Linked DNA regions of Homo sapiens: regions 2, 3 and 4 are each linked to region 1. Evidence: promoter capture Hi-C in 16 types of primary human blood cells and fetal thymus (Javierre and others, 2016). All regions are on one chromosome and are shown on one strand. The core of a region is centred on a gene start or on the middle of the fragment in contact, and the rest is flanking DNA. Distances in the headings are between cores, read along the strand shown.

Region 1 (7,054 bases), core at 2,776-5,275:
GATGTCAGAGAAAAGACTGCTTTCCCCCCTCCACTTGCATCTGTGGAATCTGGCTTTCCTAAGCAACAATGCATTTGTGAACAGAGAATCCTTTGTACTTGGTCTGGTCCCACTGCCACAACATAATAATTCTGTGACTTCTCTCTCCCACAGGTGAAGGAGTTAATATACAATTTACTCCAAGATACCTTTCTATATTTTAAAGATGTCATTTAGGGAACAGTCCTGTGCCAATGTGAGTTTTTTTTTGTGTGTGTCTTTATGTTGCTTTCTGACTGCGTCTGTGTTGTTCATAAAGAATATCTTCTAGGGATTGGGACCTGTCATAATTTCAAACTTGCTTATTTGTAGAAGATTCTGTCACAGAAGTCAAACTGGCTCCTTCTGTTCCTTTTCTTCTCCCTTCTCCTTCTCTTCCCTCCCCTCTTCCTATCTATATCTCCCTCCCTCCCTCTCTCCTTCCATCTTTCCTTCCTTCCTTCCTTCCTCCCTCCCTCCCTCTTTCCTTCCTTCCTTCCTTCCTTCCCCTCTGCCTTCTTTCCCTGCCTTGCTTGTTCTTTCAACAAGCTGCTCTCACTCGACATCAAAACAGTCTAGCTGAGTCTAGATGAGGCAGGACTGACTTTTGAGGACCCTTCCAGGCCAGCTGTGTCCAGGGCTGGCCAAGAACTCCCACACAGGCTGCTGGCTATGAGGACACAGGAAAGACTTCATTCTTAGTGTAAACACTTTTCAGATATTGACTGAGCACCTGGTGGGATAGATGCTGCAACAACAACTTCATCACCTGGACAAACACCAAATTCAGACTTGCCTCTGGTTTTCTCTCTGGGGAGCCTGCACAGTGAAAAAATTACAGGTTTGGGAGTCAGAGGAATGGACTTTTTTAAGCCCCAGCCCTGGCATTCACTAGCTAGTCCCTGGAGGAAACACTGTAAATTTTCCAAGCCTCAGTTTCTTCACATAGAAAATGATTATAATGATTCCTCTTAAATAAGATACTGCCATATGTTAACAGCATTTTATTAGCTATAAAGTGCGGAAGGGTTTCCTCCCTCTTCAAGAGTCTGCTGGGATTCCACTGTCATGGACAACATTTCATTCTTATGAAATTAAAATCTCACCTACAGGCAGGATTCTGCCAGTGCTTATGCTATACAGACATATGGAATGCAAATGTCCTCGGAGGAGCACACAGCCTTGTTGGCAGGATGAGACAGGATTCTTGAAAGCTGTACTAAATGTGACTGGTGCTGAAAAAAAAATGGATGTCTTAGGATATGTTCTTGCTTTTTAATGGAAAAAGAAACGTGAATGCATAAATATGTATAATGTGAGAATATCTTTCATACAAATAGGACATTAAATGATAGTGTCTATGGAAGCATGATGAGAAGATATGCTAGGAACGTGCTGGGCACAATTAGGGGCACGGTAGAATGTGAGATAGTCCAGGCTGTGAGTACGGGATCTGTAGCCAGAATGCCTGGTTGGAATCCAGCCTCTGTCATTTCTTTGCAGTGTGTCTTGAGAAAGTGACTGAACATCTCGCTGTGCCTCAGTTTCTCCCTCTTCTAAAAGAGGATGATGGGGTGCCTATTTCATACGGTTGTGAGGATTAAGTGATTTGATGCATATAAAATATTCAAGATGGTGCCTGGCATATGCTAAACACGAAGTAAATATAACCTATTATCATCATTATCAAGGACTTGCGGATAACTGATGCTACTGAGCCGATGGAGCGTGGTGTAGCAGAACAGCTCAGGTGCTAGAAATAGCCAGTCTCATTGACTCAACTGTGTTTCCTCAGAGAATCCCGATTCTCATTTTTCCTATCTGTAAATGGAAGGGAGGATAGCAAATAATAATAAATGTTATTTGGTGACTATTCTATGTGTTTATTTTGCAAGAGGCTCAGTGGGATATAGCCTACAGCTTTGCAGAGACATTGCTCAACACAGATGCATGGGATAGGGGTCCCATTTGGCTGAGAAAAGGTTATTGGAAATGGGAGACGAGGAAGGAGTTTTCCTCACCTGACTCTGGGAAGGGAAGAGAGTCTGGCCCAGATGGGTAAAGACAAGTGTGTTGGCATCTGGTAGACAGGGCCAGTGGCACACAACAGTGAACAGCTCTACTGCTGACAGCCAACAGGGACTTCGGGGTTTGGCTGCTGGAGATGGAGGACCTGGGCAAAAGAGACGTGAGGCCAAGAGAGCAGGTCTCAGAATGTGGAGCTCATGGAAGGAGAGAGGGAGGGCTAATCAGACTGCTCCTATCTGGCCAGAAGCCATGCCCCACACTCACCAGGCCCTACCCCTTTTCCTCTGAATCTTTAGCTCTTAGATCAGAAATAATCTTACGTGTCTTCAGGCTTGATCCTGGCCTGACGGACAGCAGCCTCTGTCGTGTAGCCTTTGGAGCTGATCATGGCAGTACCCAGGAAAAGACTGTCTGGAGAGGCTGCAAAAACCATGCTCACTGTTCCCAGTCCCCGTACAGACCATGTCAGAGGAGGACTGAGGGAGGCTCCTCTCTCTCTCTCTCTGTCACACACACGCACACGCGCACACACACACACACAGATACACGCGCACACACACACACCGTTTTGCCTGGCAGAACAGACTTATAACTTGCATAATACTGCAGCAGCCCACACTGTACCTCATCTCCATTTGGGTTCCACAACAGAAGGGAGCTGGAAGGAAATCAGCGACAATCTAACTCCACATGACAACCTGGCTGGACAACGAAACATCCAGCGGGGAGAAAGACACTGGAAATTACCCATACCTGAGCCCCATCCCAAAACACCTGAGTCAGCTTCTCTGACCATGGCCCAGGCTAGGTCATTTGCAAAGCTCTTGAGTGATTCTAAAGAACCACTGCTGTGAAAAATAAAAATGATTTCAGCAAAGAGAGAAAGGTGAAACTATTTTATTGGCACTGGCTGTGATGCTGGCTGTGAGCAGATGCTGGCTGTGGGCAGAACAGGGGAGAGGGCCATTGAGAGGCCCTTGTGACTGGAGAGTCCAATCAAACGTAAAGTGTGTGACAGGGAGGGACTCCTCCAAATTCTGCAGGTCTCTCCAGACTGGGGATCCCTAACACAAGAGGAAGTCTTATGCCCCAAGTGCCAGAATTCCAGGAAACTCATGCAATGAAACCAGTCCTCTTGTGTCAGAGTTTGCAGCTAGAAGCGGTTCAAGGGATGGAGGACTCTCTGGGAGCTGGAGTGGTACGCTGCAAAGAACCTAAATATGCCATAACTTCCTTTACTTCCCTCTCCAAGAATTTCCAATTGCTCTTCCAGCCTATTCTGCCTGACAGGTTAGAAAGTTTTCAATAGTTTTCAATAGAGGTTCGTTTACTTGCATTGAATTATCTCATGAAGGTCAGCTTGATTCGGGCACATTAAAGACAGAGTCGGAAGAACACATTTCCCTAAGTTTTATTCTAATGTACAACACATGTGATCATTTGCGATGGGGTCTAGGCAGACAAGGCAGGTAACAGGGAGTCCTTCCAACCAGGGGTTGGAACAAAGGAGGCTTGATTTGGTGACTCTTGAGACATTTGGCTCACTGCTGTGATGCTGTGAGAGATTAGCTGTGCAATGTTTGGGCTCCTTAAAAGGAAGTTTATTTAAAATAAAACTTACCTGCACGTATGTAACACTGTAGACACAGATCCTTCCCACAGTATATTTAATCTCTGCAGAATTCACTGGGAGGGGAGGGGAGCCAGTGGGACCTCTTGGCTATTACACAGGTTGGCACTTCCAGAGAGAACAGTCTTGGCATCACAGGCTTCAGGCATACTCAAAGCTCTTCTCCCTTCTGATTCCAGTTTCTCCATGCCCTGCAGGGCCTCTTGGGATTATTGTATTCTGGAAAGCAAACAAAGTTGGACACTGTCTCTTTAAATAATAGAGGCTGAGAACCTCTCAGGCCACCATGACATATCCCAGCATTGGACCAGCCCCTGAATAAACTGGAAAGACGCCTGGTCTGGCTTCAGTTACAGGGAGCACCACCAGGGAACATCTCGGGGAGCCTGGTTGGAAGCTGCAGGCTTAGTCTGTCGGCTGCGGGTCTCTGACTGCCCTGTGGGGAGGGTCTTGCCTTAACATCCCTTGCATTTGGCTGCAAAGAAATCTGCTTGGAAGAAGGGGTTACGCTGTTTGGCCGGGTGAGTTTTATTGGCAAACTGTGCCTCTGGGTGATGTGTGCCTATGCTTTACAAGAATTGCCTAATTTCCCACCCCCTGCAAGCCGCAAATGAAAAGGATTGCAGGAGAGATGGTGCATTTGTGTTGGAATTGACTGGAGATTCAGAGGGCTTTTTATATCCTTGGTTAAAAGGTGGATATATACTCTGGCTGGGGAGGTGGGGGGCCATCTGAGAGCATCTAGAAACCCTAATGCATCCAGATTGAAAGGAAGAAAGGAATCTAGATGCTTTTTCCCCCATGGAAAATAGCTGTGCACACACAGCTGGCAGGTGGCCTTGGTAAGCAGGTTAGGGAGAAGCTGCCACCTGTGGCAGAGCCTTGGCCAGCCGGGCTCTGGGTGTGGCAAGCCTGGTCAGCAGGCACTGAGTAGCACTTCCTCTGCCACCATTGAGAACCAGGCAGGAGGCCAGAGGCAGTGAGGGACAGATGGGTTGGGTTTACCTGTCTGGCAGTATATGGTGTGGCTGTGACCTGGGTGGTTATTGATTAAACTATTGGGTTCAAAAGAAAGGAAGAAGCGAGCTGTAGCACCCAATATATGCACTTTTCTGTATGTGTATTAGACTTTATTAAAAAGTTTATTTGAAAATCACAAAGGAAGGGAAAGAAAACCCTGAGTTAGATATGCTCATATTTCTAAAGTGCTTACTTAGAACAGTCCTGAGTATGTTGTGATCACATAAGTGTTGGTTAAATAAATAAATGTCCAAATGGCATAAAACAAAGTAATAATTTCTAGAGCAAATCTAACTTATAAAATGACCTGTGGAGGAAAGAAAACACTGCCATGTCTTTAGACTTTTTTTTCTACTTGCATATGCACTTTCATTTATAAATCTTTATCTATCTATCTATATCTATCTATCTATCTATCTATCTACCTACCTACCTACCTACCTATCAGAGTTACAAGCTACTTTAGTGCAGAGGTGGTCAGGTCTTCCCTGAAAGGTTGATGTGAGAGTTAAATGTGATATAATAATAGTGGTGGCAATTTGGGCACTGGGCCCTTATTATGTTGCAGACACGATGTTAACTGCTTTGTACATATTGTCTCCTTCAATCACCACCATAAACCTTTAAAGCAGGCATTACTATTTCCTTTTGCACCTGAGAAAACTGAAGCTCAGTGAACTTGAGAAATTGCCCAAATTCACAACAAAAGTAAGCAGGGTGATTAGGTTTGTTGGAGCCCAGAGCCAGAGTGCCTAACCACTGCACCATACTGCCTCTCACAGACCATGCATATAAAGTCCAGGCAAAGTGCTTGGCATATAACGGGCACTGTAAATGCAGTGTTTACAAGTACACTTCATTTTAATCTGATAACACGATAGTTTTAAAAAGATCATTGTTTGAAGATCTTTTTCAAATTTATTTTTACTTACCGTAAGAATATACAATTAGCTAAAATAGCAGCTCCTTTCAAATCGTAAAATAATATAGAATTATTTGAATCATTGAGAGTGATGAGCTTCTATGACACAGTACACTAGAGGTAGGGAAGTGTGTGTGTGTGTGTGTGTGCGCGCGCGTGCGTGAACTGCTGCATTTTCAGGCAGAAACCTTTAACATCCACATTCCTGCTCCCTGTCCCGTGCCTCAAGGCTGGCCTGCGCACGGGAGTCTCAGTTGGGCGCGCCTCTGCCAAGCCGAGACTGAAGGGGGCTAGCCTCTCTCCCTGTAACGCTGGGCGGGCCACGTTAGGAGGCTATGAATCAGCTGATTTCCTTGGCTGCTCCAACCCCACCTCAAATGGCCACCTCGCACCCGCCCGCCAAACCCCATGGCCAGGACTCCAGCCAAGGCTGACAGCCAAGCCCGACTGCTGCAGGAACACTTTGCCTAGAGCTTATTCGGTGGTAGTCTGGTTTTGCCTAGGCTAGGAGGAGCCCAATCCCAGACCATGCTATCCAGTAGTCGGCCGGACTTTTCTTCCCCTAATTCGCACCCAAGAGGAGCCCGCTAGATCAATCCCCGCCAATCCTAGGAAGCTGGCATGCTTCGTAGGTGCAGACAGTAATAGCGGGGACCGGCGCGGGGCAGGTGTGTCCGGCTAAGACGCCAGGACAGGGCAGGGGCTCCAGGACCCGAGAGGAGAGGGACTTCTTCCAGCGCTCAAGCGCCCGCTGCCCTCTATTAGTGGGAAAGGAATCCAGCCTCAGCCCCGCGCGGGCGCGGTCGGCGTCGGCGGGCCCAGAAGCCCAGCCCTGGGCATCCGCTGAGCTACATTTGGCTGGGTCTTCCCAGAGTGGGCTGAGGAGCCAGTTTCTCGGTCAACACTAGGTCTCCACGGGGCCAGGGGAGAAGGGAGGTGGGAGGTGAGAAAGCTCAGCCGCCTCTGGTTTCGAGTAAAAGTCGCCGCGGTTTTGCAGGGACCGACTTTTTCTTGAGGCGCATTTAAGGCCAAGTGACTGTCTCCTGCCCTCCCTCTCTCCTGCCCCCTCTCCTCCCTGAGTCCCGCCCTCCCGCACACGCTGACCCAGGGACACACCCTACTGCAGCGACGCAAACAGGGCGTTGTTCCCGTTAAAGGGGAACGCCAGGAGCCTCCCACTGCCCCCTTGCTTCGCGCGCGCGCAGCCCCGCAGCGCAGCTTTGGCGGCGCCAGCAGCGGAGCCAACGCACCCGAGTTTGTGTTTGAGGCCACCCTGAGGATCGGGACAGCTGTTCCTTTGGGCTGTAAGTGATTTGGTGGGGAGAGTGAAGGAGATGGAGGAGAAATGTGGGCATCTTCCAGTGAGGGTGCCAGAAAGCGCAGCGCAGGCGCGGGGCTTTGGCCAGCTCCCTGGGGCTTCTGTTTAGGGGCACAGG
Region 2 (7,054 bases), core at 3,027-5,526, 740 kb before region 1:
AACCCGAAAAGCCGTAGTAATAAATAAAACAGTAGCTCTTTCTTAATAGTATGATTACAGATGATTTTTACTTAGTGCTTTTCTAAACTTTCTTCAGTGTTTACTGGTATTATTTTTTGAATCAGAAAATATAGCTTTACACTCCTAAGAAACCATAGTCAACACTATAAATGAAAGACAGCAAAGGTGTAAATAGTTCAGAAGTGACTTACTTGACAGCTAGACTTGTTTTTACACCTCTTGTGGATTTCCTCAAAGCACTTCCACACTGCACTGAAACTGGATTTATTTGCTGGTCTTTCTTGGGTCTTTTGTTCTTTCATTCAGTAATTATTGAGCCTCTATTATGTGCCAGGCACTGTTCTAGGCACCGAGGATTTAGCACTGAGTATAATGGATGAAGTCTCTATCCTTCTTTGATATGGAAGACAAAGACTAAAAATTTTTAAACAAAAACATACTTTTAGTGGAGAAACACAAGCACACAACACACACACCTCTACTTTTAAGTGTGATGAAGAAAAGTAAAGGAAAGAGGAGTAGAGCAATAGTAAGGTGGGAAGAGATGATAGTTTTAGTGAAGGGAGCACTCTGAGGAAGTGCTATTTGAGCAGAGACCTGAGTGAAGTACGGGAGTTGGCCAGAGAAAGGTAAGAGAGAACAGTCTAGGTAGGGGGAATATCAAGCAAAGAGGCCTTGAGGTGGCACTAAGCTTGGAATGTGCCAGAATAAGACCAGTGTGGTGAGACTGGAACGAGCAAGGGGAGAGCAGCAGATGGCATGGAAGAGGTGGGTGGGCCCAGGTCATAAGCGCCTTACAGGTCCATGCAGGGATTCTAAATTTATTCTAAAGGTGATACAAAGGTACTGAGGTCTTGAAACAGTGATGGCCTGGACCAAAGCAGTAGGGTAATGGGATGAGACATGGTCAGTATGGATATATTTTGATGGCTGATCCAGTATAACTTGCTGATGGATTAGATATGAGGAATGAGGAAGAAATCATGGACAATTCTTAGGTTCTTGGCCAAAGCAACTAAATGAGTAGTGTGCCATTTACAAATCTGGGGCTGACTGGTGACGAAACAAGTTGTGAGCGGCAAAACTGAGACCTATTTTGGACATGTTAAGTATGAGATGACCATTAGACTTCAAGTCAAGATGTCGGGTGGGCAATCATAATTATAAGTCTGCCATTTGGGGGCAAGTTGGGGCTGAAGGTATAAATCTAATATTTAAAACTATGGAACTAAAAGATATCTCCTAGGTGTTGGGGCAGAGAGAAAAGAGAATAGGGCTGAAAACAGCCCTAAGGCGTGCCAACATTAAGAGGTAGGGAAGTCTATTCACCTCACTAGAGAGACCAGTGAGGCATCCCAGAAGCCAAGTGAAAGTATTTTCAGTAGGAGACAGTGATCCCCTAAGTTAAAGCTGCTGATGAGTAAGTTAAGGATTGAGAAGTAACCATTGGATTTGGTGACTTTGATAAAGGTAGCTTCAGTGGAGTGATGAAAACAAAAAAATTGGTGTACAGTGATCCCTCCTACTCCACAGTTTCATTTTCTGGGGTTTCAGTTATCTGCAGTCAACCAGAGTCCGAAAAATATTAAATGAAAAATTCAAGAAATAATCCGTAAGTTTTTAAATTGCATGCCATTCTGGGTGGCATGAAGAAATCTTACACTGTCACACTCCATCCTGCCCAGGACATGAATCATCTTTGTCCAGTGTACCCAAGTTGTATACGGCAGCTGGCCTCAGTCACTTAGCAGCAGTCTCAGTTATCAGATCAACCCACAATGTTGCAGTACTTGTGCTCAAGCAATCCATATTTTACATAATGGCCCCAAAGTGTGAGAGTGGTGATACTGGCAATTTGAATATGACAAAGAGAAGTCATAAAGTGCTTCCTTTTAATGAAAAGGTGAAAGTTCTCAACTTAGTAAGAAAACAAAAAACAAAAAACAAAAAACTGTATGCTGAGGTTGATAAGATCTACAATAAGAATGAATCTCCTGTCTGTGACACTGTTAACAGTATATAGTTATAATTGTTCTATTAAAAGTTATTGTTGTTAATCTCTTACTGTGCCTAACTTATAAATTAAACTTTATCATAGGTACATATATATAAGAAAAAAACACAGTGTATTAGAAGTCGTTTCAGGCATCTGCTGGGGGTCTTGGAACATATTCCCCATGGATAACGGGGGACTACTCTATGTTCAAGAGAGAGTTAGAAGACCACTAGGTACAGAAGAGTTGACTGCTGTATCCCTACCATCTCGGTAGCTCTTGGTATAGAGTAGGTATTGAATAAATGTCAAATCTGAAAATTCTCAATACTTCAACCCAAATTAAGAAACCCAAAATGGTGGAGAGCTAGAGAGCTTCCTGCTCATCCAGTTCTATTCCTAGCCTCCAGAATGAGTGAGGATGGATTGTAAAAACATGAGCTTTTTTTCTCTTCTTTCTTAATTTGCTGTATATCTAGGGCTAAAACGTAATAAGCATTTTGATTGGTAGCTGAACTAAGAGATACGAGAAACACCTTCTCCTTCTGCTCCCCAATTTTCCTTAAGTTATATGTAACTAAAAGTTAACAAATAAATTATGACCATGTTACCAAGGGGGTTAAAAAAAAAACCACCACCAAAACAGCAGTCAAATATTTTAAATAAAACATCTTATTCCAAAACTTCTGCTGATACCTTAAAGACAGACACTTATTTTGCAAAATAGGTAACTTTCCCTCTTCCCAATTTAGATCTCTTTCCATTTCTCAAAAGTGTAAAGTAAAGCCTTTTGTGGAGAAAAGGCAATGCCCAGATAATGGGTTTCCTACCTGACATAATGTCTTCTGCTAATTCCTTTTCTCTTTCAATTTTTTCCTCTAGAGTTGAAATGCAGAATTCATAGCCAGCAACAGCAAATTCCTGTCTGTAAAGCAAAATCAATAATCAGCCATTTACCTTTTCTTCTTTTTTTTTTCTTCCTTCTGTTGAGATGGAGTTTCGCTCTTGTTGCCCAGGCTGGAGTGCAATGGCGTGACCTCGGCTCAGAGCAACCTCCACCTCCGGGGTTCAAGCGATTCTCCTGCCTTAGCCTCTCGAATAGCTGGGATTACAGGTGCCCGCCACTATGCCCAGCTAATTTTTGTATTTTTGGTAAAGACAGAGTTTCACCATGTTGGCCAGGCTGGTCTGGAACTCCTGACCTTAAGTGATCCACCCACCTCGGCCTCCCAAAGTGGTGGGATTACAGGCGTGAGCCACTGCGCCCGGCCCATTTACCTTTTCACAAATTCTTTTTATCTTCATTTTTCCAGCTCAGTTTAAACATTATCAGTAAAGGAAGTGTAAAATGGGAAGAGGGAACTTTGCTTAAAGTCTAAGTAGTGTCAAATCTGCCATTTCTCAAAGCAGTTTTTTTAAGTCATCCATTTAATATAACTTAGGACACAAAAAGCTAGGAATGCTGCCCTAATTTTAATAACTGACATAGCCAGCAGTATTCATCATCTCCCACTAACAGATGGCCTCCAGTGAATCAACTTCTCCATGTGTGAAAGCCTTACCCCTGTTCAAAGTAATACTACCCTAAACAGTTCAGGCCGCCCTACAGTGAGGATTCCAACTGTTGACCTCATACAGCTTCTGAGGAGCTTTAGTCATTTTATATTTCTTTCAAGCTATAAGTCTCTGATAAAAGTTTCTTTTGCAGAAATGGGACTCCTAGCTATGGCAATAGAAGTCATTTAACCCAACTCTGTAGCCCTGGACCCTCAATCAACTGGAGAGGGTTGAGTCAACCCAAGCAGGCCGACTGACTGCTGCTTTTTACAGAGATGCAGAGGAAATGTGACAGAAATCCCTTCTCCATTTAGGAGCTCAGCTTTGGTTCTTTTCTTCAGTTTTGGCTCTAGTTTCTTACAGAAGTGGCACTAAAAAGCTCACCTGTTCTCTAGTGCTTTGCCAGGGGAGAACTTATGACCCTACTGTTCTGCTCTGTTCTCAGAAGAACAGAAGCATCCCCTTCCTTCCCTACGCTCAAAACTTGGCAAGAGGGCCCTCTCTAGCCATAACACAGGGCAAGTGGACACTGCCCAGAAGACGCTCCCAGTCGGAGCAAGAGGTCTACAAACAATTCCCCTCATAACCTATATCAGCCTTTCGAAGCCTCAGATCTGGCCATGTCTTTTCTAGTCTCATGCTTCTCTTAATAAAACAAAATGAAAAGTACAGAGTACCATGTAACTCAGAGGCTAATTGTTACTAGCTTTCACCTCTAGAAGACTATGAATTTGTCTTACTCAACAATGTTTATTAGGCTCTGGGCTTCTTCTTACCCTAGGGATTCATACCCAATCAAGAACTAGGCATGTTTGTTACAACTCCAAGAAAGATTGACCAAGCTGCAGTGTTCCCTGGCATGGGCCAAGCTCAAAGCTCCTCAAAAGACTTGAAGTCAAAGGCTCCAGGAAGCTCTAGCCTATCTAGTGTCCAATCAAAATGCAAGGAGACTATGCAGGTCCTGATGAGAACAAAGGAGCTGGTGAGTAGGACAGTAGGGAACAGTGCCAGGGCCTGGCCTCAGTGAGCACCCTTTCTACAGCATCAGGCTCCATGTCACTCCAAACCTCTCGCACCAACTTCTGCACCACTAAAACCTGAAGGGAAGCTAGTCTTAGGTCTCTCCCTAAATTCATCCCAAATACAACTCTCTAGAGGAGTTCTCTGCTTACAACCTAGATGCTTCATCTTTGAACTCTATTTATACCAGCAAAATGGCTTCTTCAGAGTATTAATATATTATCCCCAGCAGCTTTCACACTGCTCTTTCCTCTTCTAGGAAAAGTTAAACTAAAGTTCTAACTCTAACTTCCCTTCCCACTTCAAGCAGCAACAGAAAACTTAGTTAGTTTTGTCACAGGGCAGCCAGAGATGTTGTGTGCCCCACTAGGCAGGCTGATGGAAACAGTAGGGGCAAACTGGAAAAAGACTGACAATTTCAAAGATGAGGGATGGAACACTTTGAGTGTGACACCCAATTTCTGGGAGACCCAGATGACCAGTAGACAATGAATATTATGTAACATCCCAGAGTCAAAGTTTCCTGCCCACAGTCCTACTCCCTGGCTGCTGTACTTACCTGTTCTGCGCAGCATAGATACTGGCCAGCTTTAGGGAAATTTCAATTATTGCATTGTCCTCCTGTGAGAGAAAGAGAATGAAGGGAACTCATAACAAGTAAATTTTTTCATGGCATATTTCAGATCAACTTCCAGACTGACGGTGGCCTCAAAGCCACAGTCTTTATTCTTTTAGAGTGATGAGCCAACTGTGAATTCCTTGGCAAGCATGCTGTTGCATTTAGTGAAAGAATGGCAATTTGTATAGAGATCTCAGAAGGGAAACTCCACCTTTCCTGACCAAAGCATGTGGTGGGGCTAGGAGGAGTTTTCAGGAGACAAGACTGTTTTGAAAACTGCTTCAGTGAGGGGCCAATACTAGGCAATGTCCTTACCTGCTTCATGCCCCCTCCAAGGAGGTAACTCATTGTTGCTTTAAAAAGTTGTTCAGCCTAAAAGCATAAGGAAAAGATTTTTCTTTTAATTGGGCCCCATTTTATATATATATATATGACCCTGGATTCTAAGTGCCAGTCTGATGCAACATTCCTTGTAAAACCCATATACCCACACACACGCACACTCACACACAGAAAAGTACCCTTTTGAAGCGAAAACAGATCAAAATATCAGGACCCTCAACATCCTCTGTGTACCTTAAACTACTCTCTGATGAGTAGAAAACAACCTCAGAGATTAAGTTCTTATCCAAACCCACTGTGGCAGAGACTACAAACTGTCTCCTAATAGTCATTCTCTTCTCCATCTTTTTGATTACAGAGTCCCCTCGATTTAGCCTGGGAAATATGGTGAAATCCCGTCTCTACAATAAATAAATAAATAAATAAATAAATAAATAAGAAAATTAGCCAAGTGTTGTGGCACACGCCTGGAATCCCAGCTACTCAGGAGGCTGAGGTGAGAGGATCAACTGAGCCTGGCAGGTCGAGGTTGCAGTCAGCCATGATTAAGCCACCGCACTCCAACCTGGGCAACAGAGCAAGACCTTATCTTAAAAAAAAAATTCAGTCAATTTTAGCAGATTGGACACCCTTAAGTTAGATATGGTCATATGATAAAATTTAGGCCAAGGGATGCAGGCAGAAAGAACGTGAACTTCTAATCATGTTTTATAAGGAAGCTGCTCACAGTCCATCTTCTCCCCCTTCCTGCAGACTGGAGGTGAGTCAGCTCACCTAGGCAGAGGAGGGCTTATCTTAGAAGAAACCTGGACTTCTGGATCAGAGAGCAAAGGTGCCTATGTCTGTCTGCCTTCAGTCTTTAGCCTATCTCTGGACTAACACAATAAAGAGAAATACACTTTTATCTTGTTTGAGTCACTATATTCTAGGGTCTCTTTGTTATAGCAGCTTAGCCTGTACTCTTACTATTACAGTTCCCTTGAAGCTACTCCTTCATAAATTCAAGATATTACAAAGCAATTTACTTACATTTTCAAGCTGACCCCGTATAAATGCTAAGTTGGCCATCTGAAAGCAAATTACAAATTGTTTTTCAGTTTAGAATACTGTGTTCCTACTTATTTCAAAACTTTAAAATTCCCTTTTGCTTTCACCCTCAAAATTTAAAAAATAGTTGAAAATGAAAAGCACATCACCAATTAATCTGCAAGAAGAAGCACAGGACAGCAATCATGTGAGAATTAAATACTTGCACATACTTTGTTGTTAACAAACCAAATCTAGGTCCACTCATCATTAAAAAAACATGCTAATGATACTGGTTTTTTTTGGTCTGGAATTGAGAGGTCTTATGTCACCCCAAGGGTAAAAAAACTGAAGCTGTGGCCGGGCGTGGTGGCTCATGCCTGAAATCTCAGCACTTTGGGAGGCCAAGGCAGGTGGATCACCTGAGATCAGGAGTTCGAGACCAGCCTGGCCAATATGGTGAAACCTCGTCTCTA
Region 3 (7,054 bases), core at 2,187-4,686, 710 kb before region 1:
ACATCAGATTCAACGCAATCATCTCCCCAGAGGTGTGTACAGGCCAATATATGCAAGAGTTTTGCCACTACTCCCCGCCCCCCAACCCCAGAAGTATAACACAGTAGTTAAGAGAGTAGCCTAGACCAGCCGCCTCGTCCGGGAGGTGAGGGGCGCCTCTGCCCGGCCGCCCCTACTGGGAAGTGAGGAGCCCCTCTGCCCGGCCAGCCGCCCCGTCCGGGAGGGAGGTGGGGGGGTCAGCCCCCCGCCCGGCCAGCCGCCTCGTCCGGGAGATGAGGGGCACCTCTGCCCGGCTGCCCCTACTGGGAAGTGAGGAGCCCCTCTGCCCGGCCAGCCGCCCCGTCCGGGAGGGAGGTGGGGGGTTCAGCCCCCCGTCCGGGAGGGAGGTGGGGGGGTCAGCCCCCCGCCCGGCCAGCCGCCCCGTCCGGGAGGGAGGTGGGGGGGTCAGCCCCCCGTCCGGGAGGGAGGTGGGGGGGTCAGCCCCCCGCCCGGCCAGCCGCCCCATCCGGGAGGTGAGGGGCGCCTCTGCCCAGCCGCCCCTACTGGGAAGTGAGGAGCCCCTCTGCCCGGCCAGCCGCCCCATTCGGGAGGGAGGTGGGGGGGGTCAGTCCTCCGCCCAGCCAGCCGCCCCGTCCGGGAGGGAGGTGGGGGGGTCAGCCCCCCGCCTGGCCAGCCGCCTCGTCCGGGAGGTGAGGGGCGCCTCTGCCCGGCCACCCCTACTGGGAAGTGAGGAGCCCCTCTGCCCGGCCACCACCCCGTCTGGGAGGTGTACCCAACAGCTCATTGAGAGCGGGCCATGATGACAATGGCGGTTTTGTGGAATAGAAAGCAGGGAAAGGTAGGGAAAAGATTGAGAAATTGGATGGTTGCTGTGTCTGTGTGGAAAGAAGTAGACATGGGAGACTTTCCATTTTGTTCTGTACTAAGAAAAATTCTTCTGCCTTGGGATCCTGTTGATCTGTGACCTTACCCCCAACCCTGTGCTCTCTGAAACATGTGCTGTGTCCACTCAGGGTTAAATGGATTAAGGGCGGTGCAAGATGTGCTTTGATAAACAGATGCTTGAAGGCAGCATGCTCGTTAAGAGTCATCACCACTCCCTAATCTCAAGTACCCAGGGACACAAACACTGCGGAAGGCCGCAGGGTCCTCTGCCTAGGAAAACCAGAGACCTTTGTTCACTTGTTTATCTGCTGACCTTCCCTCCACTATTGTCCTATGACCCTGCCAAATCCCCCTCTGTGAGAAACACCCAAGAATGATCAATAAAAATAAATAAATAAATAAATAAAACAAAAATTAAAATTAAAATTAAAAAAAAAAAAAAGAGAGAGTAGCCTAGAGACTCTGATGAGCATGTGGTTACAATACCTGTCTTCCTAGGGAGCTGTCAGATTTCAGTGAGATAATCTATGAGAAGCACTTCACAGCCTAGTGCCTCAAGGAATGTTAACCATTGCTGTGACAGCTTTCTGAAGGCAAGGAAGAAATATAACTTAGGACTAACGTGAGGAGTGCAGGTAGTCTGGGTTTTCACCATGGGTTACATACCTTGTGCCTGATGGATCTAAGCCATTTCCCAAAGCAGCAGGCAAAGTAAGTCTGTGTCCACTCTGATTTCTAAAGAGAATACTCCTGTCTCATCATCTTTATCTGCAGTTTTTATTTATTTATTTTTTGAGACAGTCTGGCTCTGTCACCCAGGCTGTAGTGCAGTGGCGTGATCTCGGCTCACTGCAACCTCCACCTCCTGGGTTCAAGCGATTCTCATGGCTCAGCCTCCTGAGTAGCTGGAATTACAGGCATGTACCGCCACACCCAGCTAATTTTTGTATTTTTAGTGGAGACAGGGTTTTGCCATATCAGCCAGACTGGTCTCGAACTCCTGATCTCAAGTGATCCATCCGCCTCAGCCTCCCAAAGTGCTGGGATGACAGGTGTGAGCCACCATGCCCGGCCCATCTGCACTTTTTAGACAATCAGTTAGAGACCCCGTAATCTGTATGCTCTAGTCTTCTCCTGCCAAATAAGATGGTAATGAGAAATCTTGGTTAGACTGGCCAGCCCTGGCCCTGCCTGTTTCTAATAGGTGTGTGTGTTTTATATTCCAGTGCAAGCATCTCTTGGCAGTTTACCTGAGTCAGGTTATGAGGACCTGTCAGCAGCTAAGTGTCTCTGACAAGCAGTTGACTGACATATTATTGATGGAGAAGAAACAAGAAGCATAAAAGGTACAGATTGAGCATCATTCTTTCAAAATAGAATCCTGTCAAGAAATGCATTGAAAGCGTCATGATTCACATGGAAAAGAGGTGAAATGGATCTTCAGACACTTCATGTTACTGTCCCTTTTCCCTCCAGGACTGCAGGAGGTGCTGTGGGTTGGAGCCGTGGGCTGTGGAGGGTTTGTGTATGATGAGAAGCCCTGTACAGTCTTGTCAAGAAATACCCTGAGCCAGTCTCTGAGACGCTTCGGTAAAAAATGTCCCTGGATGGAATCAAGATTTTAAATTCAAATAAAGCCTAATATCATGTTGTGTCCACATTATTTAGTCTTTTTTTTTTTCTTTTGAGATGGAGTCTCACTTTGTCGCCCAGGCTGGGGTGCAGTGGCGTGATCTCAGCTCACTGCAAGCTCCGCCTCCCGGGTTCACGCCATTCTCCTGCCTCAGCCTCCCGAGTAGCTGGGACTACAGGTACCCGCCACCATGCCCGGCTAAATTTTTGTATTTTTTTTTTAGTAGAGATGGGGTTTCACCGTGTTAGCCAGGATGGTCTCCATCTCCTGACCTAGTGGTCTGCCCGCCTCGACCTCCCAAAGTGCTGGAATTACATGCATGAGCCACTGCGCCTGACCCTATTTAGTCTTAAGTAACTAACTGAATTACTAGTAATTTTTAAAAGGTTGGAATGGTGGGCCAAACAGTAAGATGAAGTTTCGACGAGTAGGTCAGTTCTTTTCCTTGGGTCCAGGAAACTATTGAGCAGCAACAGAAGATCAGAGCAGAGATGTGGCTAAACAGTAGCAGGTATGAAAAGACTTAGAGGTTCTGGTTTCTGTAAGCTTCAAATATCTGTGATGCTTGTGCCAAAACAGCTTAAGTAGACTGTATTGTTTGAGAGTTAGTATCGAGAACAAGGGAAGAACTGGTTTCACTCTGCACTTCTGATCTTTACAACAGGGCAATTGAAGGAACAGACTAAAAATCGTGTCCTGGAAGGAAACTACAGGTACTACCAGGGATTTTCAGTCTGAAGAAGAAAAGACAAAATAGATGACAGAAGGAGTATTAGAAGGGAGAGCGATGAGACTCAGTTGGACACCGAGAGAGCAAAGAAGCAATAATACGTGAAGATGAAAATGAAATCAATTTCAGCATAAGAAGACAAGAACTTATGGTAAAGCTGCCCACAGCCAGAAGAGGATCCTAGAAGGACAGGAATTCCCTGTCTGCAGCATTTCATAAGCATGTAATATTGTTGCAGGGATACTGCAGAAGGAGTTGAAGCAGTGGACAGACAGATGATATAGGTGATTTTACAGCCTAAGAAAGCCCTGTGCTTGTGCCCCCAAAACATGAGGTGCTAGTGAATGAATGCTGGGGGAAAGCCCAGGGCCTAGGTGTTGCAATGTTCTGTGGTTGGCAGATGCTTTTTGTTTTGTTAAAAAGTGCAACAGATAAAATTTATCAATACTTTTCTGCTACTCAGGAAACTTGGACTCAGCATAACTTACTTTTTTTCCAGCAGCCTTCAGGGTAAAGTTTAGAAGGTAGATGCAACAAGCCAATGCAGCACCCTAAGCTTGTCTTTTTAAGTTTTATTTTTATTTAACCTAATATACACAGAGTTAAATAATTTTACTTCATAAAATTTTCACACTTTGAGTTCCAAGAACTTAACCAAACTTGAAATTTGGAGAGAAGCAAAATTCCCTATCTATCTATCTAGCTCTAGAAGGCAGAATTTGGTAGAGGAGGGATCCCATTTCACCAGTTTCTTCCCCACGGGTAGTTTTCTGTATATGGAAAAGAATGGAGCTTAAAATTATGTGATGAAAATTTGACTTATGAGACTATCAATCAATCATTTCCCTAAATTAATACAGCAGTTTCTTGATTGAATACTTTATTTATATATATATATATATATATATATATATATATATATATATATTTTTTTTTTTTTTTTTTTTTTTTTTTTTTTTCTGAGACAGAGTCTCACTCTGTCACCCAGGCTGGAGTACAGTGATGCCATCTGGGCTCACTGCAGCCTCCGCCTCCCAAGTTCACATGATTCTCCTGCCTCAGTCTCCTGAGTAGCTGGCACATGCCACATACCCAGCTAATTTTTGTATTTTTTAGTAGGGACGGGGTTTCACTATATTGGACAGGCTGGTTTTGAACTCCTGACCTCGTGATCCGCCTGCCTTGGCCTCCCAAAGTGCTGGAATTACAGGTGTGAGCCACCATGCCCGGCCGAATAATTATACTTTTAATTTTTGAGGTCACCTTCCTGGCAACAAGTATACATTTTTAGTACAGTCAACTTTTATTTTTCCATTGCCTCTAAGTTAAAAAGTATTTGCATTATAATAGTTCACACTGTTTCACAGTAAAATAGTTTCAGTAATTTTCCACCATAAACAAGGCAGACTTTTAAAAACAAAAGAGTCTGTTAGAATCCATTCAAGCTGTTGGCATAATCCACACAGTAAAAGCAGCTGAATAGATCATAAATATATTTGTCAATCCTTGGAGCCTACTACTGACACATACATATTAGCTAGATACGTGGTAGCTCCAGGGAAGTGCTCAAGAGAGGCAGTCCATTTCCTTGTGAGGTGTAGCTATCTTTCACAATGAAAACCAGCCGTGTCCTCTTTGTTTCTTGTGGATTTGTATCTTCTCCTGGAAGAGGCGAGAGCCTAGATCATAGGCCCACACCGAGAGCAGGCTGTACCCCAGCCTGACCATTCCCACTCTTGACATCTGCTTGGCAGAGAAGATACCTGGAGATAATTTTGTGAAAAGTGTAGCGGAAGTCTCGGTTCCGGTAAGCATAGACAATGGGATTGACAACTGAATTGGCATGTGACAGAAGAATGGCCATATTCATTGCCCACTTGGGCTTATTTTTACCCTGAGCTGGCTGGAAAAGAGTGACACAGTTAACAGCATGCACAGGTAACCAGCACAGGGCAAAAATCCCCACAATCATGGCCAGTGACTTGGCTGCATGGATCTCCCGCTGGAGGGTGGTCCTCGAGTGGTCCATCAGCTCAGTGCGCTGAAGCTGCCTGCAGGCCACCAGGAAGATCTTAATGTAGATCACCAGCATTATAAGCAGTGGGGGCAGAACACACCCAAAGAAATTGAAATATACCATGTAGCTCATGGGGACCACATTCTCAAAGAGACACTTCACAAGGCAGCAGCTTTCATTCGTGGTTCCATCCCAGGGTTCTGTGCAGTTGTTGGTGGCACTGTCTTTACTGTTCCACCCCAGGAATGGAGTCAATCCGATGCCAAAGGCAAGGACCCAGAGGACAGCAATGACCCCTCTTGCTCGGGTCCCCGTGACCAAACTTTTATACCTGTTTAAAAGAATACCATCTGTTACGGTCAGTTTATAGCGCTCTGCAACCACAATCCAAGACCCCACCTCCTCTTTTTTCCATGACCCTTTAACAACCTCTAAAGTTCACCTTCCAGGGCACTAAGGCCTTTACCCTCAATACTAAAGACATGCAAGCAGGGATGAGCAGCTTTGCTCTAGAAAACTCAGTAAGATCTTCATTCTTGACTTAGCAACTCCTTTCTGTTTAGTGACACAGGATGGCCAATGACAAGAGGTGGGGAAGCCTTAAGGGAGTACTGTAAGTCCTCAATGTCCTCGGTGGGTTCTCAAACTGTGACTTGAAGTATATGTCATAGGAAGTTAACTCTTGTTTATATTGTTAAATCAAGTTTAGCCTAAAGCTGCCTCCTTACATATTTTAAATTTGGCCTAAAGGTTTCTCTGTACATCGTGGACTACAACAAGTGGACGTGTAAACAGACTATAGCCTGCACTCATGCCAATCCTCGACTTTTGGCCAATCAAATGTGGCCAACTGTTCGAACCCTGTTCAAAAAGGGCAAATGCTGAGCTATAACCAATCCAGCTGTTTCTGTTCCTCACTTCCATTTTCTGTACGTCACTTTTCCTTTTTCTGTCCATCACTTTCTTTTTTCTGTCCATAAATTATCTTCCACCACGTGACTGCACTGGAGTCTCTGAGCCTGCTTTGGCTCAGCAGGCTGCACAATTTGTGAATCATTCTTTGCTCAATTAAGCTCTTTTAAATTGAATTCAGCCGAAGTTTTTCTTTTAACAGTATCAACTGTGGTAAAATTGGCTTTGTTATACAGTGCATCATTTTGCTTCAAGTCACAGTTTCCAAAAACCGATCGACTTCCTATACTTCCTACCTACCTAGGTACCGCTCTTTGAGTCTAGGTCTTCTGTAAGGCATTGTTCTAGGTCAGTGGTCCCCAACCTTTCTGGCACCAGGGACCAGCTTCATGGAAGACAATGTTTCCACAGACCAGGGGCGGGGGGTGATGCATTAGATTCTCATAAGGAGCGCACAGCGTAGATCCCCTGCGTGCACAGTTCACAATAGGGTTAGCTCCTATGAGAATCGAATGCTGCTGATCTGACAGGATGCAGAGCTCAGGCAGTAATGCTCGCCTGCCTGCTCACCTTCTGCTGTGTGGCCCAGTTCCTAACAGGCCACGGACCAGTACTAGTCTGCAGCCCAGGGGTTGAGGAACCCTGTTCTAAGTGCTTGAGATACATCAGTGAACAGAACACACAGAGATCCCTACTAAATTTTAACAGACTCAGATCTAGCAGGGGTAAACATAATAATAAACAGTATGGAGATATATGTGGTATGAAACATGAAAAAGCAGAGTAAGAAAGATCAGGATGGGCAGGACTGTAGTTTTAAAGAGGCTGACATCATGGATAAGGTGACACTTGAACAAAGGCCTGAGGCAGTAAGCAC
Region 4 (7,054 bases), core at 3,389-5,888, 680 kb before region 1:
TCCCTAGTAACTGGGATTACAGGCGCGTGCCACCACGCCCGGCTAATTTTTGTATTTTTAGTAGAGACGGGGTTTCATCATGTTGGCCAGGCTGGTCTCGAACTCTGACCTCAGGTGATCCACCTGCCTCGGCCTCCCAAAATGCTGTGATTACGGGTGTGAGCCACCGTATCCAGCCCCTGCCAAGCTTTATTTCGAACATTACCAGTGAATTTTATGGGACGGGAATTATAGCTTAATTTTTTGTGTATGTGTGAGACACAGTCTCACTCTGTTGCCCAGGCTGGAGTGCAGCGGTGTGATCCTGGCTCACGGCAACCTCTGTCTCTTGGGTTCAAGCAATTCTCCTGCCTCAGCCTCCCGAGTAGCTGGGATTACAAGCGTGTACCACCACACCCAGCCAATTTTTGTATTTTTAGTAGAGACGGGATTTCGCCATGTTGGCCAGGCTGGTCTCAAACTCCTAGCCTCAACTGATCTATTCGCCTTGGCCTCCCAAAGCACTGGGATTACAGGCGTGAGCCACTGTGCCTGGACTATAGCTCAATTTTTTTTTTTTGAGGCAGAGTTTTGCTCTTGTTGCCCAAGGTGGAGTGCAATGGCGTGATCTTGGCTCACTGCAACCTCTGCCTCCCGGGTTCAAGCGATTCTCCTGCCTCAGCCTCTCAAGTAGCTGGGATTACAGGCACCCACCACCACACCCAGCTAATTTTTATATTTTCAGTAGAGACAGGGTTTCACCATGTTGGCCAAGCTGGTCTCGAGCTCCTGACCTCAGGTGATCCACCCTCTTCAGCCTCCCAAAGTGCTGGGATTACAGGCGTGAGCCACCGTGCCCGGCCCTATAGCTCAATTTTTTTAAGTTTTGAAAAACATTCAGAACCCCCCGCCAACTCCTACCCTAAGCACAAAGTCTTGCTAAGAGGTCTTTAATCCCTACCTCAAAGACCAGATACGTGAGGCACAGAGAAAAGCCTCAATGTGGCAAGAGCAGAGAGGGTGACTGGGCAGGGTCCAGGGACAGGTCAGATACACGGCACTGGACCCATTCGGCCAACTAAACCCTCCCGGATCCACCCTCTTTCAGCTCCACTAGGAAAACAGCTGGCCTCAGCCCTGCCAGAGACTCAATGCCACAGGGCCAGGGAAACTGGGTCTACAAGCAGCGAAGACCCCCACAGTGGGTGTGGCATGAAAGGAACAGGATTCAAGCAGGGAGGAGGAAGTGCTCCTGCCTGAGGGTGAAGTGAGAGCTGGGAGCAGCTTTGGGCATGGCCCACACCCTCCTGCCTGTACACGTCCACCTCCCCCAGCCCAGGAGCTACACGCCCACTCCCGTCGGCACCACTGGGGACTGGAGCCCCCCGCCGCCAGGGCCCAACATCAGGAATTGTCTATGGACTTGAACCAGAGGCAATGGACTTCTGTTTGTGGCCAGCCCTGTCCTGAAGGCAAAGGGCCAGGCCAAGGGCGTCATATTTGTCCCTGGCATTCCCTCCGGCTCCCCTCCCTTCTACACTGTCATCTGTCACATCAGTAAACACCTTGGCAATGCGGTGGCAGGTGGGGGCTGTGGTCTCTGCGGCCACAGGCCTCACACTTGGAGCCCTCGAACCGGGAGGAACTGGGGGTAGGTCCCAGGACTGTCCTAGCCTAAGCCTTTAGCCCTCACTCCCTGCACCTCACCCTCCTTATTGCTTGGCTTCAAAGGGGACACACCTCCTCCCAAACAGGGCACTTCCAACTTTACTCTCACCTGGAGTTCCACAACCCCAGGAAGGCCTCAGGGCCAAGTCAGTGCTTGGGGCGCCATGCACCCAGCCTGTGTCAGTCAAGTGAGGAAAGCTTCAGGCCCTGAATCTAGGAGGATTCTTAGATCGCTGGACCCAAATGTCCCTGGTTAAAGATCCCACTGCTGGAATCCCCTCGACACCCACTCCAGAGATTCTGATTCAGTACAACCAGGTGAGGCCCTGTAATCTGTATTTTAACCTCTTCCCAAGGGGCCATGAACTGCTAGGCCAGCTGAGGGAAGGCCTGCCCCAGGCACCAGCCCCTGAGAGGGAAGCCCTGGGGGCCCTAGTACACCTCTCCCACCCACCAGGGTTGGGGTGGTGCTGTGGCCAGGTCAGACGACTAACTCTGGGGCAGGGAGCTGGGGACTGCCTGTGCACCTCTTCCAGACCTCCAAGCTCTGGACGGGCCAGGAAGGCAGGATGGGGCGAGCCTCAGTGTTCTTCCCTCCTGCCCTTGGCAATGCAAAGAAGCTCAGGGCCTGTGATTCACAGCACTTTCCCCTTAACACACCCACACCCATTTTTTTCAAGACCTCACCCAGCACAAACCAGGACAAGAAGGAACAGATTTAAACTTTCATGGAACTTCCTGCTCCCTGTGGCCTGGGAGATTGTTCCACTAACTCCTCTCTGGGTCTCTGGTCTCTGCCAGGGCAAGTCCAAGGGGTTTCCATTAGATGGACAACTCAGGCTGGGGCTTGTGACTGCTCTGCTGGATGCAAAACATCCAAAATGCCATCAAGTAACAACGATGACACCAAAAGGCAGGGAAGGGATCCAGAAGAGAGAGAAGAAACTGCTGTCCTCCCTAAGCCTTGGAAATCCCTGGGCTGTCACACCTGATGGGAGACATAAGGCCTCCTGGTCCAACAGCACGGGCAGCAGCACATGGAGTGGCCAGACACCCACATAAGGCTCACAGCCCTCCCAAGCAGGAGGCTCCTGTTCCTGCTGGGACCCACGAAACAACCTGCAAGGACCAGGCCCAACACATCTGCCTACTCAAATGGCCTCTGGGAGCATTCTCCGGCTCCATTCCCACAAACACATTCCCCTACAACCACCAGTTTACTGCAGGCAGGCTCCTCCTCCCAAAACAGCAGAGCACTTTTCTCCCTGACTCCTAAACACGGTGCCACACATGGCCTTGCAGAGTGGCCTGATGGCATGGGTGGGGACACGGTGCCAGCTGTGAGTTCAAGCCCCGGCTCTGACACCCATCCCTGATACACCATCCTGGGCAAGACTCCAACCTCCCTGGGCCATCACCCCTCCTCTACGAGATGAAGGTTACAGCACCCGTCCTCTGGTACTACTGCAAGGACTGCTGGGGACACGTTTATTATAAACTGTCTGCACAGAGTTGGCACCCAATAAATGAATTCCTTCCCTTCCTTCCTACTCTGTGATTTAGTTTCCCTGTCTCAGCTCCAAATTTAAAGAGATCTCAAGCTCTCCTCAGAAATGCCAAAGTGGCCCAGGCACCAAAGACAGAGAATAAATACTTTCAACAAACTCTCAATGTTGAAGTCATCAGCTCCAACTGGGAATCCACTCTGGTCGCTGGCTGACTCCATCCCCTGAATCCTAGATTTTCTCAGTGTGGGAGAAAGAGTGGACAAGTAAGTTCGCCACCATTTTCTGCACTTCTCAGCCCGCTCCCAACAGGGCAGCAGGAGATAAATAGTTACACAAGGGCAGTGAGGCTGTAAGGCCGTTTGCCAGACACGAGGAAGCATTGTAACTCCTTTTAAAAGTATATAATCTGAGTCCGTAGCGTTCCCCAAAGTTAACGGACACCTTCCCCTGGGATGGGCCGGGCCGCCTCTCCGCAGCAGACACGTTCTGAAGCTGGCTCATGCGTGTCCATTCTGACGGTGCGAATGCCCAGCGTCCAAAGTTGCCTTGCCCTTAGTGGGAACCTCCCGGGCCTCCGGGAGCCGCAGCACTCACGGGACTGCCGCTGCACCGCCGCTGCGGGCGAGTGTTAGGAACGGCCTTCGTGGCAGGAGTGGAGATGTGATCACCAAAACTCCCGCGCCCCGGGCTCCACCCGCCCACGGGGGTGACGCTTTCCCCGGGGGTGACGCTTTCCCCGGGGTTTCCACGGCGCCTCCCCGGGCGCCGGGGACCGCACTCCCCGGACCCCCTAGAGCTGTCCCTACGCAGATCTCCTTAGAGCGACGCGCATCTGGGATGTCTTGGGTGCCCGGGCGCACTGGTCTAGCGTTGCGGGGTGGCCAGGCTGGGAACCAGCCCTCCAAGCGCCCCGCGCGCCCCCAGCCTGGCCCGTCTGGGGCCCCCGAGGGAGGAACCCCGGCCTGGAGAAGACGACCCATTTCGGAGCTCCGACGGGGCCCCGAGTTCGGGCGACGCCGAGCGCCTCACCTGAGCGGGACACAGATGGCCAGGTATCTGTCGACTGCCACGGCCAGAAGGCTGAAGATGGAGCTCTGCGTGAGCACCAGCACGAAGCAGGCGAGGAAGAGGCAGCCGTAGAAGTCAGTGCAGAAGCCCAGGCTGATGGTGATGGCAAAGGGGATGGCGAAGAGCCCCACGGCCACGTCGGCCGCAGCCAGGGACACCAGGAAGTAGTTGGTGGGCGTCTGCAGAGTGTTCGCCGTGCCCACCGCGGCGCACACCAGCACGTTGCCCGCCACCGAAAGCGCGGCGATGACCAGCTCCAGCGCCACGTACAGCGCGTCCTGTGTCTCCAGCAGCATGGCCGGGCCAGCTGGGCCCCGGGCGCCCCCTACCGAAGGCGCGCCGGGCGAGGGGCAGCCGCGTGAGACCCGCCGGGCATGGCCATAGCGCCCGGACCGCGCCTCCGCCTGCCGCTTCTGAGCCTCGGGGCTGGGGCGCTGGTGGCCGGGACCCACGGGTCGGGGCCCCCCGCGGCCAAGAGGCGGCACCCATTGGCCCGCGCGCCCGCCCGTCTCGGGCTGGGCGGAGCACCACCCACTCGCCCGAGCCCAAAGTTCGCGCCCGCGCGGGGCCCCTCCGGTCCAGGCGCCGTGCCGCGTCTTGGTGGCGGCGGATAACTAACAAATTGCCCCAACTTCCCGTCACGCTCGAGCTCGGAGGCTGTGTCCCAGTGCTCGCACTGCCTTCCAGTCCGGGCGACTCCTGGGATGGGGCCGGGCTCTGCCCGGGGCGCCAGCAGGTCCCAGGAGCCGCCGCGAGAGGACCCCCCAGGGCCGCGCAACCCCGGGCGGGGCGAGCTCACTCCAGGCTAACCCTGCGCACCCCGGGCAGGCCGACTGGATGGGGGGCTGCCGGGCAGGCAGGGAGCCGAGGCCGCAGTCCCCGCTCGTGCAGCAGTCTCGGGCAGCGCAGCACCACCGGAGCTGTCTCCAGGCTGCGGGGCCGGACTGCAAGGAGCCCTCGGGGGCTGCAGCCCCCTCCGGCCGCCTCCCAGCGAGGCTCAGCGCTGTTCTCCACCCTCGCCCGCGCCACTGCCCCTACGGCCCCGCTCTGCCTTCTACCTTAAGACAAGCTCGTGGCCGTCCCATCCTCGTCCACCGCCCGAAAATACCAGTGTTCCCCGGGCCCTCTTTTTTCTTTCCTTCACACTCACCCTGGATCGGCACAGGCTCCCGAGGCCTCCCACGTGGCCCTCACACCCTTAACTCCCAAATCTCTTGCTTCAGCCCTAACAGCCTCCTGAGGGCCAGATCCTAACACCCCACTGCCGACTCTCGCCAGGAGAGAGACTGGTGCCCCCAAATCCAACAAGACCAAAACCAAGCTCATCTCTAATTCTCCCCAAACCTGTGCTGCCGCCTTTTCCTGGGACCCTGTTCGTTATTGACCTGGCAACCCTCACCCACCCTAGGAAGTTTGCTGACACCCTGAGCCTTCGCCTTTCTCCACGTCCCAATGATCAGCAGTGCTGCTGGTTCTGCTTCCAGAGACTTGCTTCCTTTTACCCCCAAAGTCCTGCCCCGAGTCCCTCCTCACCACCTGCTTCTACCATCCCTCCCTCTCTGCCTGTGGGTCCTCAGCTTCTGCAGCCCTCACCAACACCATTGTTCTAGAGCACTCCTGGCCACGCTATTTCACCACCCGAAAGCCTTTGCTGACAGTCACCAAAGAGGATGGGTAAGGAGATTTTCCAGCAACAGGAAAAGATGCTTGTAAAATCATGTAAAGCAAAAATCAAAACATGGGGTGACTGCTAAAGGGTAAAGGATTTTGTAAAGGATTTTTTAGGGTGATAAAAATTTTCTCAATGTGGTGATGGTTGTACGGTTCTGTGGATATACCTCAATGCCACTGAACTGTACACTTGAAAGGCATGCATTGTGTGGCACATAAATTATATCTCAATGTAGCTGTAATGACGACAACATGGCTCACGCCTATAATCCCAAAACTTTGGGAGGCCAAGACAGGAGGAACATTTGAGGCCAGGAGTTCAAGACCAGCCTGGCCAATGTAGGGAGACCCCATCTCTAAACAAACAAATAAAAAATAAATCAGCCAGGCACGGTGGCAGGTGCCTGTAGTCCCAGCTACTTGGGAGGCTGAGGCAGGAGGATCCTTTGAGGCCAGGGGTTCGAGGCTGCAGTGAGCTGGGATCATGCCACTGCATTCCATCCAGGCTGGGCAAAAGAGGGAGACCCTGTCTCTAAAAAAAGACAAGAAGAAGAAAAACCCCTCTGCCCTCCACAGGCATAAACAGTCACATCTGCCCTTGCACCAACGAGGACAGCAAAATGTCAAAAACACACACAGTAGACCTCCTAGCTGGGTGGGATGATTACAGGGAATTTTTTTTTCTATTTCCCTTGAGGTTTTGTTACTTCCATAATGAAAACAGTTGATTTATATATCAAAATATTGGCAAGCCCACACATTCCGTGTCCTGGTCACGTGAGTTCTGGAATCACCTGCTCCACCAATCACGTTCCCACAGCAGTTGACACAAACTTCTGCTGCCACACAGAAGGCCAGAGAGATCAGGCAGCTCCTCCAATAGCACTTCCTTGGAGTGGCAGAGGGCAAAGGGTTAGAGGAGGCTTCCTGGGGTACTGGCTTTTACAGAGTGAGGGAGGCTTCACAGTGGGGTGGTTCCAGCTATACCAGGCAGAGGTGGTAGTTAGGAGTTTGCCCAGGGGTGCCATGCCCAGGAGAGTGAAGAGAAAAAGGCCTAGTGGAGAAGGCTCTGGCTGCCAGGCTGGAGAGCTGGGCCATCCTGCTGGGATGCCAGTCCGCAGAGGTCACAGGACGGGGCGGGGATGGTCAGAGCAATATCC

Evidence for each region. Contacts are between HindIII fragments. The CHiCAGO score rates a contact against its expected background, and 5 or more counts as called.
Region 2: a contact is called between a fragment that was not itself captured here and the fragment with the promoter of PMP22 in region 1, in 4 of 17 cell types (naive B cells, total CD4 T cells, total B cells and 1 more). The highest score is 7.3, in naive B cells.
Region 3: a fragment that was not itself captured here is called in contact with the fragment with the promoter of PMP22 in region 1 in 2 of 17 cell types (total CD8 T cells and total B cells); the score reaches 6.8 in total CD8 T cells.
Region 4: the fragment with the promoter of ADORA2B here is called in contact with the fragment with the promoter of PMP22 in region 1 in 2 of 17 cell types (erythroblasts and megakaryocytes); the score reaches 7.3 in erythroblasts.

What each region holds. Positions count from the first base shown.
Region 1 is chr17:15,262,297-15,269,350 of GRCh38, reverse strand. PMP22 (peripheral myelin protein 22) reads left to right here and starts at 4,025. Exons shown (of 5, transcript NM_000304.4): 1 at 4,025-4,197. LOC124903931 (a long non-coding RNA gene) reads right to left here. Exons shown (of 2, transcript XR_007065632.1): 2 at 3,442-3,895. The HindIII fragment of the contact is 20,659 bases long and covers 1-7,054 here.
Region 2 is chr17:16,002,359-16,009,412 of GRCh38, reverse strand. TTC19 (tetratricopeptide repeat domain 19) reads right to left here. Exons shown (of 10, transcript NM_017775.4): 4 at 6,582-6,620; 5 at 5,526-5,582; 6 at 5,151-5,212; 7 at 2,845-2,939. Among named protein-coding and RNA genes, the nearest start is that of TTC19, 6.1 kb to the right of the region's middle. The HindIII fragment of the contact is 7,124 bases long and covers 715-7,054 here.
Region 3 is chr17:15,973,221-15,980,274 of GRCh38, reverse strand. ADORA2B (adenosine A2b receptor) reads right to left here. Exons shown (of 2, transcript NM_000676.4): 2 at 4,529-5,596. The coding sequence ends at 4,933. ZSWIM7 (zinc finger SWIM-type containing 7) reads left to right here. Exons shown (of 5, transcript NM_001042697.2): 5 at 2,112-3,715. The coding sequence ends at 2,228. Among named protein-coding and RNA genes, the nearest start is that of ZSWIM7, 23 kb to the left of the region's middle. RefSeq lists enhancers at 550-1,136, 1,137-1,722. The HindIII fragment of the contact is 740 bases long and covers 3,067-3,806 here.
Region 4 is chr17:15,942,714-15,949,767 of GRCh38, reverse strand. ADORA2B (adenosine A2b receptor) reads right to left here and starts at 4,638. Exons shown (of 2, transcript NM_000676.4): 1 at 4,185-4,638. The coding sequence starts at 4,519. RefSeq lists an enhancer at 3,821-4,635 and a silencer at 4,463-5,082. The HindIII fragment of the contact is 5,899 bases long and covers 1,848-7,054 here.